3 separate regions of the Homo sapiens genome follow, and all the other regions are linked to region 2. Evidence: promoter capture Hi-C in 16 types of primary human blood cells and fetal thymus (Javierre and others, 2016). All regions are on one chromosome and are shown on one strand. The core of a region is centred on a gene start or on the middle of the fragment in contact, and the rest is flanking DNA. Distances in the headings are between cores, read along the strand shown. Region 1 has its middle 89 kb from the start of LINC01082. Region 2 holds the start of FOXF1 (forkhead box F1). Region 3 overlaps LINC01081 (long intergenic non-protein coding RNA 1081).

Region 1 (4,787 bases), core at 524-3,023, 400 kb before region 2:
TCTGGCAACTCGACTTCCACACTATCCGTTTAGTAATGCCAGTGTGAAGAGCCTGTTCATTATCCGTTGTTCGAGGAATGTCCTGGGGTTGACTCTTACTGGCTTGGTCATGTGCCATCTCTGAGCCAATCAATGTGACTTTTTTTGTCTGGGCCTAGGTCCCGTGTTCACCCCTGAAACTGGGAGGTGTTGTCATCAGCCACCTGAATCTTGTGGACTGAGAATGGTATAGGGATAGTTTCCAAAAGGAAATTGAGAGTCTAACCCCAGAAACAGGAGGAATGAAGATTGGTGGTCAAGCAAAGGCTGTCCAGCACAGTGCCAGCAATGCCACCATTGGATACACCTCCTTCAAATGCTTCTTCAGAATAGAGCCTTTTATCCTCCTGCTCCCCTAACAAGATGATTTCATTCGCATATTAACAGGGCCTAGAGTTATCTGCTCAAGTTATTAGCACCCAGTGTGTCCTTTAGCACAGGCAGGGACTCGAGATTCTCAGGCAGAGGACAAGCAGGCTATGAGGGAGAGAACATTCTGGAGCTCAGGAAGCATGAGTGGGAGGCTCTGGCATTCAGAGGATAGCGTGATAGACCCCATTGTGGGTGCTGGAAGTTTCCAAATAGAGAGACTTTGTGAACAAGCTGCACAATTTCACAATTTTCCTCCTGGGTCAGCCATGTCACAGCAGAACTTTTTTTTTTTTTTTTTTGAGACGGAAATCTCGCTCTTTCGCCCAGGCTGGAGTGCAGTGGCGCGATCTTGGCTCACTGCAAGCTCCGCCTCCTGGGTTAATGCCATTCTCCTGCCTCAGCCTCCCCAGTAGCTGGGACTACAGGTGCCCGCCACCACGCCCGGCTAATTTTTTTGTATTTTGTATTTTGAAATTTTTTGTATTTTGAAATTTGTATTTTGTATTTTGAAACCCCATGTAGAGATGGGGTTTCACTGTGTTAGCCAGGATGGTCTCGATCTCTTGACCTCGTGATCCTCCCACCTTGGCCTCCCAAAGTGCAGGGATTACAGGCGTGAGCCACTGTGCCTGGCCCACAGCAGAACTTTTGAGCGGGTTCTCAGCTACTCCAGGCCAGGCTCTGGCTTCCACATGCAAGGACAGTTCATTCCAGGTGGAGACAATTCCACCGGCTAACAGATGTGTCTCTGTTTACTCCATGGCTCACCCACTCACCCTCCAAGCTTCCACTTTCCTGTCAGCCCCTCTTTCAGACTGGCACCGCCAGGAGCGTGAGGAGCCTGTGTGGTCTGCTCATTATTCTATCTCCATTGCCTGGCACACAGCTGGTGTTTAATAAGTGCTGTTTGGTGGATGGTGGATGGTTGGGTGAGCGGATGGTAGTTTGAATGGCTTGGCGGATGGGTGGATGGGTGGATGGGTGGATGGATGAGTGGATGAATGTGTAGGTAGAGGGCTGGCTGGCTGGAGGATGATTGAGTGGACCCACAGCTGGATCAGCAAGGTTAACTGGAGGCAGAATTCTGTGACTGTGAAGAGCAAGGTCTCTGTAGCCAGATTGCCTGGGTTCAAATCCCATCTTTGCTTCTTACCTGCTTGTTGACCTTGCGTAAGTTTTTAGCCTCTCTGGGACTCCATTTTCTGATCAATGAGATGTGGGTACCGCCAGGACTTACCTCAAAGGTTGTTGTGAAGATCATCTGAGACGTCACACATGAAAGTACTTTGCACAGTGCCTGCCACACACTAAGAGTTCACTAACTGTGACCTGCCTTGTCCATTTTCATTTGTGTTCTAACAAATGGTTCTTTTGCACGGGCTGCTCTGTTACTGGGTGCTTCCTAGATACTAGGGACACAGCAGAGAATGGCGAGGTGCCCCTGCCCACCTCGAGCAAGCACTTTTATGGGGTGCACGTTTTCCTTTTGTCTTGCATAGCACTTTTATCATTTATACGCATTTTTCATATCTGCACTAATGTTTTTAAAGAGTTCCCCCCATACTGGGCTGTACAGTCCACCCAGGGCCTTTACTGTTTTGTTACCAGCTGGATATCAAAGAAAGAATAACTGATTATTCTCCTTCCAGTTGCTCAGGCCAAACACCCTGAGGTCTACCTTGTATCTTTCCTTTGTCAGGCCACTTTCAGTCTGTTGCAGATCCTATCGGCTCTGCCTTCACAATATACCCAGAATCCAATTTCCTCTCCCAATTCCCTGGTGACCTCTTGTGGGGCACCAATTCCTCACTGGAATCCTGCTAACTGGGCTCCCTCTGTGTGTTTATCCCCACAGTCCCCCCGCCAACATCAGCCAGGGTGCTCACAACGCATCGATTCTACCCTCCCAGGGGTTCCCAGCTCATCTGAAGTAAAGCCGACAAGCTTACCACGGCTTCCAGGTCCTTGCGAAACTGTCTCCTGCCTGCCCTTGCCTGGGACGGCAGAGACCCTGTCTCTCCATCTCTCACTGCCTCCTCACCGCTCCAGCACGGGCCTGGCTGACCCACCCACGTGCCTGGCACACGTCTGCCGGGGCTGTGCATGCTGTGTTCCCTCTGCCTCAAATGCTGTGCTCAGCGATCTGAGCGCTCCTGCCTCCCTTCCTTCAGGGTTTCTGTCGGTGAGGTCTTCCCTGGCCACTGTCTCTAAACACTGTCAGCATCCCTCTTCTGACACGTCTTATCCTCCCTCCCTGATTTTTTTTTCTTCGTAACGCTTGTCTATCTAACATACAGTGAGTTTCATCGAGTGTCTGTTTTCCTCCAGCTGGAAAGTGAATTCCATGAAGGTGGAGACTTTTTGTCTACTAATGTGTCCCCAGTACTTGGTATAGTGCCTGGCACATAAAAAATGCTCAATAAATACTGGAGGAATTGTTACTACTACCGTTACTACTACTACTACTACTGTTACTGCTGCTACTCCCATTACTACTACTACCACCATTACTACTACTGCTACTACTACCATTACTACTACTACTACTACTGTTACTGCTGCTACTCCCATTACTACTACTACCACCATTACTACTACTGCTACTACTACCATTACTACTACTAGTACTGTTACTGCTGCTACTCCCATTACTACTACCACCACCATTACTACTACTGCTACTACTACCATTACTACGACTACTACCACCATTACTACTGCTGCTACTATTACCATTACTACTACTACTACCACTTTTGCTACTACCATTACTACTACTACTACCATTACTACTACTACTATGACTACTACTACCACCATTACTACTACTATGACTACTACTACTGTTACTGCTGCTACTCCCATTACTACTACTACCGCCATTACTACTACTGCTACTACTACCATTACTATTACTACTACCACCATTACTACTACTGTTACTACTACCATTACTACTACTACTGTTACCGCTACTACTACCATTACTACCACCATTACTACTGCTGCTACTATTACCATTACTACTATTGCTACTATTACCATTACTACTACTGCTACTATTACCATTACTACTACGACTACTACTACCACTGTTACTACTACTGCTACTACCATTACTACTACTACCACCACCATTACTACTACCACCATTACTACTACTACCACCATTACTACTACTGTTACTGCTACTACTACCATTACTACTATTACTACCACCATTACTACTGCTGCTACTATTATCATTACTACTACTACTATGACTACTACTACCACTATTACCACTACTGCTACGACTACCATTACTACTACTGCCACCATTACTACTACCATTACTACTACTGTTACTGCTACTACCACCATTACTACTACTACTACCACCATTACTACTACTACTGCCACCATTACTACTGCTGCTATTATTACCATTACTATTACTGCTACTATTACCATTACTACTACTACTACCACCACTGTTACTACTACTGCTACTACTACTACTACCACCATTACTACTACTACCATGACTACTACTACCACTGTTACTACTACTACTACCACCATTACTACTGCTACTACCACCATGACTACTACTGCTATGACTACTAGTACTGTTGGTGTTCTTGTTGGTCTCTTCCTCTCAGAGATGCTCTAATTCGGGTGCCTGTCCCAGCCCTCTATTTTATGTACATTCTGATTTTGTGTACCAGCTTATTTTAGAAATCACTGTTTTGCATTCCAGTTTCCAATTTGTAAATGGGAAGGACGTGGAGGAAGCCCTCTCTAAGGTCTTGCCCAGTTTTTTTTTAAAAAAAAACTCTAAGGCTGTGTAGTAGGGTTGAATGGTGCCACCTAAGCCCCCAAGGATATGACCACATCCTAAACTCTGGAGCCCATGCGTATTACCTTCCATGACAAAGGAGTGTCTACTACCTTACATGACAAAAGATATAATTAAGTTAATGATCTTAAGACCGGCGCTGATTCCATATTACCTAGGTGGGCCCTAAACCCAGTGACAAGTGTCCTTACAAGAGGCACAAAGAGGAAAAGACAGAGAAGAGGAGAAAGCCACATGATCACAAAGCAGATGCAGCCGTAAGTCAAGTAATGCTAATAGCCACCGAGAAGGAAGGGGCGAGGAAAGATCCTCCCCTACAGCCTCTGGAGGGAGTACTGTCCTGGCGACACCTGGATTCCAGGCTTTTGGCCTCCAGAAATGTAAAAGAACAAATTGCTCTTTTAAGCTACAATGTTCATGGTGCTCTGTTACAGCAGCTCTGGGAAGCAAATGCAGGCTGTGATTCCACAAAGCTGTCTGCAGGCTCGGACATCATGGTGGCTACTGCTGAGGACACAGCTCCCCTGGCTCCAGG
Region 2 (4,152 bases), core at 972-3,471:
TGCGCCGGCGAGCCCCCCAGCTCCTCTCACCGACGTGCCAGGCGCCCCGAAGGCGACAGGCGTCTCCCGCCGAAAATGAAGGCGTCCGAGCCAGGAAGGTGGGGGCGGGTAGTTAGCGGGAGACAAGGAGTCCGGAGAAAACCGAGAGGCGGGTAGGCTTTGAACGCGCCGCGCCGCGGGCCGTGCTGCGAGCCCGGCACACGCCTCTCGCCCCAGCTCGCGCTGGGGCTTGGCCTCTAGGCTCTTCGCGATGACCCGCGAAAACACCCCTCGCCCCCCTCTTCTCAACTCGGAACCCTGGAGGGAGAGGCCGCGCCCGGCCAGCAGTCGCTGCGAGAGCAGCACTCACCTGGGTCTGTGCGCGCCGCGATGCGCCGGGGCTCCTGCGCTGTCCTGCGCTCCGCTCTCGGCACCACCTTTCGTGGCTCCACCGCCCCCAGCCCGCACCCGAGCGCTGAGGTGGCAAGGGCAGGTCTGCGTGCGAGCCCCCTGCGGGCTGGCAGCCAGGTGCGCGAGGGCCGCCCTTGCCGGCGCTCCCAGCCCGCGCTGTCTGCTCTCAGGAACCTGGCCTGGCGCGCAGTGTCAGAGGCCCCGCGGCGGCGGCAGGCCGAGCCCACAGGGGCATTAGGCCAACTCCCCCCTCCCGCCCTGCGCACGCGGAATTCTCTATTATTATTATTAAAGAATCCCCCAGAACTTGTTTACGTTAAACCCTGTAAACTTCCTGCCAGGGCCTTTGCCATCTCTCGGGAAATCGGAACCTGCGCTTTGAAAACGGGGCCGCGGGGCCAAATAGGCGGGTTTTCAGTGTGTGTTGGGGGTGGGGGAGGGCAACTGAACTACGTGTGAGTTCAGATCCGAGCGTGGCGTGTGTACGCGTGAGTGGGAGTGAGTGCGAACTTAAGCTCCTGTGGGCCTTAAGCTTCCGTGTCAACGAGTGCATTAGTGGGTGCGCACATGCCTGAGCGCCCTCTGCATATGAGTGTGCACACACGCATGGGTGTGTTTACACGTCTGTTTGCGTAATTTACCGGGTTTGCATGTGCATCAAGACATGTATGTGTGTGCTAATGTGTGGACAAGAGCGCGAGGGTGTGCGCGCACGGGTGAGTGACTGAGCACGCCGCTTATTCAGGGGCCTGTGCGGTCTGGGTCGCCTCTGGGCCAGCGGGTTCTCACTCGCCCCCGTCAGGCCCGCGGCGCCCGAGACAAAGCGGCCGCGACTCGTGCTGCGCTTTCGTTTTCCGCCTGCGCTCTGCCCCGGCGGCTGCCCGCCCGCTCGCAAGCTGCTGGGCGAGTCCGAAAAATCCCGGGAGCGGCGCAGTTCTTCCCGGGGCGGGGAGAGTGGGTAGGCGGTCCCTCGCGGGAACTTAGCCGGCCGGCCGCGAGGACCGGAGTCGAGCCGGCTGTGCCTGCGATGGTCACGACCGGGAGGCCGCCGCACTTGCGATTTGCTACAGGGCTGTGCGCGTCGGGGAAGGCCCCGGCCCAGGGAGCGTTTCCCGCCGCGCCGCCCGGGCGGGGAAGGCGGGGTCCAGCGCGCACCGGGGCTGAACCGCGGGCGGAGGGCGCATTAACACTTGCTCGCCAGGTTGGTGGAGGCGGGGCGGATTCTGCTGGCGGCCGCGGGGCGGCGAGAGTGGGGGCTCTTTAAGCGCCCACCAACGCGGGGGCCCGAGGGGGGCAGGGACGGAGGGAGGGAACTCCGGGAGGGTCTTAGGCCGACCCGCGAGACGCAGCCGAGCGGAGATGGAGTGAAGGCTGCCTCGCCCGGAATCTCGGAGCCGAGCGCCGCGGGCGGCGGGGACTCAGGGCTGCTCCCGGCTGGGGCGCACGGCCGTAAGACCTGGAGGTGGTGCCTCCCCCCAAAAAATACCGGCGGGGGTAGCTTCCTCACGGCCTTCGCCCGGGCTGCCCTCGGCCTCAGCTCGGCTCCTTTCCTTGTGGGAGGGCGAGAAAGAAAGAGGGAGGAGAGAGGTGGGGGAGGCGGGAGTTGGAGAGAGAGGGGCTCTGAGCCAACCGCCGGCGGATCCAGCAGCTCCTCGGGGAGGGCGGGCGGGAGCGCGGGGGCGGGCGCGCCGCGGCTCGCTCGGGAGAAGTGGCCGCCGATGACGGCAGAGGTGCAGCCAGCCCCGCGCGCGCAGCCCCCTCCCCTTCGCCCTCCTCCCCCCCGTCGTCCTCTTCCTCCTCCTCCTCCTCCTCCTCCCGGCCCGTCCGCGGCGCAGAGCAGCGGCGGCAGCGGCGGCGGCGGCAGCAGCCACCCGATGTCTTCGGCGCCCGAGAAGCAGCAGCCACCGCACGGCGGCGGCGGCGGCGGCGGCGGGGGAGGCGGCGCGGCCATGGACCCCGCGTCGTCCGGCCCGTCCAAGGCCAAGAAGACCAACGCCGGCATCCGGCGCCCGGAGAAGCCGCCCTATTCCTACATCGCGCTCATCGTCATGGCCATCCAGAGTTCACCCACCAAGCGCCTGACGCTGAGCGAGATCTACCAGTTCCTGCAGAGCCGCTTCCCCTTCTTCCGGGGCTCCTACCAGGGCTGGAAGAACTCCGTGCGCCACAACCTCTCGCTCAACGAGTGCTTCATCAAGCTACCCAAGGGCCTTGGGCGGCCCGGCAAGGGCCACTACTGGACCATCGACCCGGCCAGCGAGTTCATGTTCGAGGAGGGCTCCTTTCGGCGGCGGCCGCGCGGCTTCCGAAGGAAATGCCAGGCGCTCAAGCCCATGTACAGCATGATGAACGGGCTCGGCTTCAACCACCTCCCGGACACCTACGGCTTCCAGGGCTCGGCCGGCGGCCTCTCGTGCCCGCCCAACAGCCTGGCGCTGGAGGGCGGCCTGGGCATGATGAACGGCCACTTGCCGGGCAACGTGGACGGCATGGCCCTGCCCAGCCACTCGGTGCCCCACCTGCCTTCCAACGGCGGCCACTCGTACATGGGCGGCTGCGGCGGCGCGGCGGCCGGCGAGTACCCGCACCACGACAGCTCGGTGCCCGCCTCCCCGCTGCTGCCCACCGGCGCCGGTGGGGTCATGGAGCCGCACGCCGTCTACTCGGGCTCGGCGGCGGCCTGGCCGCCCTCGGCGTCCGCGGCGCTCAACAGCGGCGCCTCTTATATCAAGCAGCAGCCCCTGTCCCCCTGTAACCCCGCGGCCAACCCCCTGTCCGGCAGCCTCTCCACGCACTCCCTGGAGCAGCCGTATCTGCACCAGAACAGCCACAACGCCCCAGCCGAGCTGCAAGGTGAGTGGGGAGGCCGAGGGCGCCCTGGTCCCCGGGAAGTCGAGTCTGAGTGGCAGCGGGACCCAGCTGGGGCGAGCCCCTCCACTTCTGTGGTCGGAACCCCAAGGCTGAGGGGAGGCACCAGCTCCCCAAGGTGTCTCTTGGCCCCACCTCTCCCCCTTCGAAGAGTGACTACCGCTCTTGACCCTAGTTTGGGCCAATCTGTTTCTCTTTCTGTTCGAACTCCAGCTGCCAGCTGCTCCAGGCCTGACCAGGTAGGCTGGTCCTGAGCCAGATGTCCCAGACCCCAGTGCCCTAAGTCCTTTTGTGTCCCTTAAGTCCCCTCACAGCTTGGAAAGATCCTGGGATGGACCCAAGGCTCCCAGCGCTGGCCAGATGGCTGTCCCTCCCTGGTGGTGGCCCTCAGGCTGCCTGGAGGGCTGCCTCTGCCTGGGGCTGGGCGGAACGGAAGGTGTTAGGCCCAAAGCCGCTGGGCCAGCGCTCAGAGGCTCAGCCCCGGCCTTTCAGGGGACCAGACCTGGCAGACCCACAGCTGAGTCCAGGGGCATTTTGTGGTGACTGAGGCAGGAGGGTGCCGTGGCCAGGCCCCGGAGGGTCAGAGCTGCAGACCGGGCCATGGGGGCTCCTTGTTTTTTAGGATCCAAGTTTTCAGGTCCCCACACCCCCAACACCCCTGATACCCCAATACCCCGAACATGCAGAAGCATCTGCCAAGGGAGATGCAGCAGCCTCGCCTCCTGATTCTGCCCCAGGCCCCCCGCAGCCTGCAGGCCCAGCTCTGGAAAAAGCTGGAGTGAGCTTGCCAGGGCCAGTCCAGGGTCAGCTGTCAGCAGCCCCAGGAGGCAGGAGCCAGGCCTGGAGGCCTTAGGCAGCCTCTCTGCGGGGGACTCCCCGGCTCCGGGGCCTGTT
Region 3 (4,204 bases), core at 493-2,992, 260 kb before region 2:
TTTGGGGGAAGAACATTCCAGAAAGAGGGAATGGCTAGTGCCAAGTACAAGTGAGCTTGATGAGCTTGGGGAATAGACAGAAGGCCCACATGGCTGGAGTTGTCATTATTGGGAGGGATGGGGAGAAGCAGGAGACATGGCCAGAGGGGCAGGTGGAGGTAGACGGTGAACCATGAGCTTGATGACAATTATCTTGTCACTGCCAGAGCCACAGACTGACCTACATTTTTACAGGGTCACCACAATGAAGGGTTGAGAAAAGGCTGAGGGGGCTGCAGGTGGGTGGAGGACAGGAGGCTAGAGAGGAGACCTGTACAGCTGCTGGACATGGCATGGTGACGATGTGGATTAAGGTGGTCTCTGCTGCATGACACATTTCAATACACATAGCAGCTGGCAAAAACAGTCAGGCATCTGGGCCCAGCTCAGTTGCGGCCTCTGCAGGGCTTTGATTAACATATTGGCTGGGGCTGGTCTCATCTGAACGCCTGAGTGGGGAAACATCCAGTTTCTTGCTTGCTCAGGCTTTTGCAAGACTTCAGGTCTGTAGGGCTGTTGGACTGAAAGCTACAGTTTTGGAGTGCTTCATTTCATTTTGTTTCATTTGTTAGCCATCAGCTGGAGGCTGCCTTCCACAACTAGAGGTCAACTACAGTTCCCCACCATACAGGGCTCAGCAGTGTGCCCAGCTTCTTCACAGCCAGCATGGTGGGTGGATTCCAGCCGACTGAGGGCCACAGCCTTAGGCAGCGCCACCCCATAACCACGTGTATGGAACCAGACACGTCTGTCACCTTTGCCAGACCCTATGGATCAGAAGCAGTCACAGGCCCTGGCTGCTCTCAGGGAAGGGGTTCCCACAGGGTGTGCACACCAGGGTGTGGGGTCCTGGGTCCGCCTACGGGTCTGTCTACCATGGTGGTGTCCATGGGTATGCTGAACAGTGGACGCTTCTGCTGTGTAAGTTTAATTTCCTCCCAGAAGCAGCACATTATCATCCCCCATTTAATACACGAGGGTTAAAGTTTTGTCCTATATGTGGCAAATGATGATTAACTTTTCTTCGTTAAATCCATAAAGTACCAGGAGGAGGACAGACAGATAGAAGCCAGGCAGAGAGGGTTTGAAGGGAAGTTGAAGGGAGCCCCAGGAGGAACCTGGAACTCACACATCACAAGGGGTGATATCATCACTCCTAGGTTCCACCCCTGCACAGCAAAGAAGCCCAAAGCTTGCTGGCTTACAACACTGATGTTTCCTTTACTTGTTCCTCCACTGATGGCATCTACTGGGCAGGCTCAAAGGCTGGGGCTGGGTCCCCCATACAGCTGTGCACTGACACACAAGCGTGGCCGGGACCACAGCAGGGGCTGTGGCCAGAGGACGTGTGGCCTCTTGTGTGGCCTGGTTCCTGTACATGGTGACTGGGCTCTAACGGTGGGCACCTAAGACAGACAGGGCGAGGCAGGAGCTGCATCACATTTATACTCCATCCTGGAAACCACACTGGCTCATTTCTACCTCATTGTATGCACCGGAGCAAGTCAATGTCCACAGGGAAGGAGACCAGCAACCACCTTTAGAAGGGAGAAGAGTCACAGGGTAAGCAGCCATGTTTCAGGTAAAACCGCCACACCGTCTGGAAACATGCTGATTCCAAGCAGGCCACAGGTGAGGGCTTTCGTGACATCTGGGTGACTATTTGTAACCTTGATGATTGATCAAAGGAGAAAAGGCAGGCTCCTCTTCTTGGCTCCCAGGGGTATCTCGCCCTGAGATTGCCTGGGGACCACAGTTAGTTCATCTGTGAAATGGGGCAATAACCTCTCTTTCTACTTATTTTGGAAGACATCTTAGAAAAATATCAAGTGTCGTGGCAGATGTAAGCCACATGACTGTTGCCTGAGATGGGGAAAGCAGGTAGGGGGCAGCTGGCTCAAAGCCCTGGGAGTTCCCAGAACACACGAGATGGACCCAGTTCCCATCAGCCCCCCATAGTGCCACAGAGACCCAATGCCTCCATGGCTGACAATCCCCCACAGGCTCCTGTCCTGCCACAGAGCCCCTTGGGAGGGAGCGGGCACCCTTCACACCTAACCACGGCTGTTCCAACACAGCCACTCCAATTTTAAGATATTCCCGACAACAAATCTCACTCGTATGCACTGTACACCTACATGTGCCAAGCACCGTTGCAGATCTTGGCAGCACCGCGCCACATTCCCTTCCTCACGGAGCTCAAGCTCAAGACCCGGAAGCTTCCAGGAACCCATGAGCCACTTGGGAGGTAACTCCTTTAGGAAACTTGACAGTATCGCTTCATTTTTCACCTGGATATTCTCACACTCTGTGGGGAGGCTAAATGGTAGAAACATGTCTATTTGGGGTGAGGTAAAAGCTTTAGGGATAGATGGTGGTGATGGTTGCATAATATTGTGAAGGCAATTAACACCACCATTTAGGTACACCTAAAATGGTTACCATATTAAGTTTTACGTTATACATATTTTACCACAGTTCTTAGAAAGTGAATAATGTGACACACCGCAGATCATTAAATGTCATGCTTTAAATGAGTGACTTGCACGGTATCTGAATTTATATCTCAATAAAGCTGCTTAAAAATAAATCAATAAAATTTTAAAAAGCTACTTTGAAAACATTTTAAAAAATTATAGCCCAGAATGGTAAGATTAAACTCTATCAACCATCAGGGACGTTTCCGAAATGCATGGTGTGCTCTTAATGACTAATTATTGTTCTGTTAACCAAGGCTTTGCTCAACAGAAAATCAAAGGTACACCAGGGAATGAGCCAAGCTCAGAATCTCACAGGAGAAACTTCTGGCCAATTGATTCACAATCAATTTTATCTCCACAGACATGCAGGAAGCTCAGACAGGCTGTAGAAATCAACTGGCCTCGAAAGTAACCCAATATCCCACGGTCTGTGTCCCTCCATCCTCCCTCCTCCCTTTGTCCTGGTTAATATAACTTGATACTTCATAATCCTGGAACTTACACGTGCCTCTGCAAAGGTGAAAATCCCCACAGTAGAGACACTTCGTCCAGCAGATATATGATCCCATTTGCCTATTAAATGCAAATATCCAAGTGGGCTGTTGGTTCAACCAACTACTCAAACAAATTGAGCCTAGATCCCAACAAAGGTGAATTGTGCAAAAATCAAAATGAGCCCTGGGTGGGATCAGCTTCAACACCACGAGAGGGAAATGGAGATGGGAAAGGAGCCGGGGTCAGTTCCCCCAAAAGGAGCCATGTGGTCTTGGTTTGGTTTTAATTAACTTTAGGAACACATTTTTTTCTTTGGCTGGCCTGTGCGAAGGTAGAATTGCGTGGCAACTGGCATTTCATGTAATTGGCACTGATGGTCACTGAACCCACAGGGCTGAGATCGACACCCCGAGTGCTGCTGATTTCGGTGAAATTGAACAACGTGCATGTGACCGCAAACCCAGCTGAAATGTGAATGCCCCGGAATGGGCTGGTTTGCAGCCTGAGAAGAATAGACTTCACTGTGCTCCAAATCAGGACGCAGTCCAAACCCGATCTGGATGTCCCACTGCCCGTGTAGGGGTCTGGGATACAGATCCTGAGGCTGAGGACACTCAATAGCCTCCCCTCCCCCATCTCCAGCCACCATCCAGCTGATGGGGGCCCCTGGCAGCCACCCAGGTCACTGTGTGTCCCAGGGTTAAGGGCTCTGGGGTTGGGCAGAGGGGGACCCAGCTGAAGGACAATGCATTTACTGACACCATCTAGGTAACTGATTAAACAGTCCTTGTGAGTAGACCTGGGCCTGGCCAATGCCCCCTGCAAGGTGCCCACCTGGGCCCCCAAGTGAGTCAGTGTGCACCAGGCCTGTCTCCTAGTAGACACGAGGCATGTTTATTATCAGTGATAATAACCCTAATGACACATTCGAAGGACCTGGGACTGCAGATGTGATGAATTTGACCGGGTTTCATTTCTCTCTGGCATTTAGAAAAGAGGAACCTCCCTTTATGCCCCTACTGTGAATGTCCACGTCCAAACCAACACACAAGCCAATACACGGCCACTACACTGCACAAACTTCATTTATGTGAGATCATCGGCCATGAGACCCTGTGGGCGCTCAGAGGAAGGGGGCTGATGCAGATGAAGAGGTCAAGAGACACTTCTGGAGGAGGTGATACCGGGGC

The links. Contacts are between HindIII fragments. The CHiCAGO score rates a contact against its expected background, and 5 or more counts as called.
Region 1: a fragment that was not itself captured here is called in contact with the fragment with the promoter of FOXF1 in region 2 in 1 of 17 cell types (M1 macrophages); the score reaches 5.3 in M1 macrophages.
Region 3: a fragment that was not itself captured here is called in contact with the fragment with the promoter of FOXF1 in region 2 in 1 of 17 cell types (endothelial precursors); the score reaches 5.1 in endothelial precursors.

What each region holds. Positions count from the first base shown.
Region 1 is chr16:86,104,938-86,109,724 of GRCh38, forward strand. No RefSeq gene overlaps it. Among named protein-coding and RNA genes, the nearest start is that of LINC01082, 89 kb to the right of the region's middle. The HindIII fragment of the contact is 1,160 bases long and covers 1,194-2,353 here.
Region 2 is chr16:86,508,306-86,512,457 of GRCh38, forward strand. FOXF1 (forkhead box F1) reads left to right here and starts at 2,222. Exons shown (of 2, transcript NM_001451.3): 1 at 2,222-3,243. The coding sequence starts at 2,265. It overlaps FENDRR (FOXF1 adjacent non-coding developmental regulatory RNA), which reads right to left and starts at 555. Exons shown (of 4, transcript NR_033925.1): 1 at 350-555. RefSeq lists an enhancer at 3,715-4,152. The HindIII fragment of the contact is 3,241 bases long and covers 921-4,152 here.
Region 3 is chr16:86,244,747-86,248,950 of GRCh38, forward strand. All of the region lies in intron 3 of LINC01081 (long intergenic non-protein coding RNA 1081), which reads right to left. Among named protein-coding and RNA genes, the nearest start is that of LINC01081, 39 kb to the right of the region's middle. The HindIII fragment of the contact is 1,027 bases long and covers 1,230-2,256 here.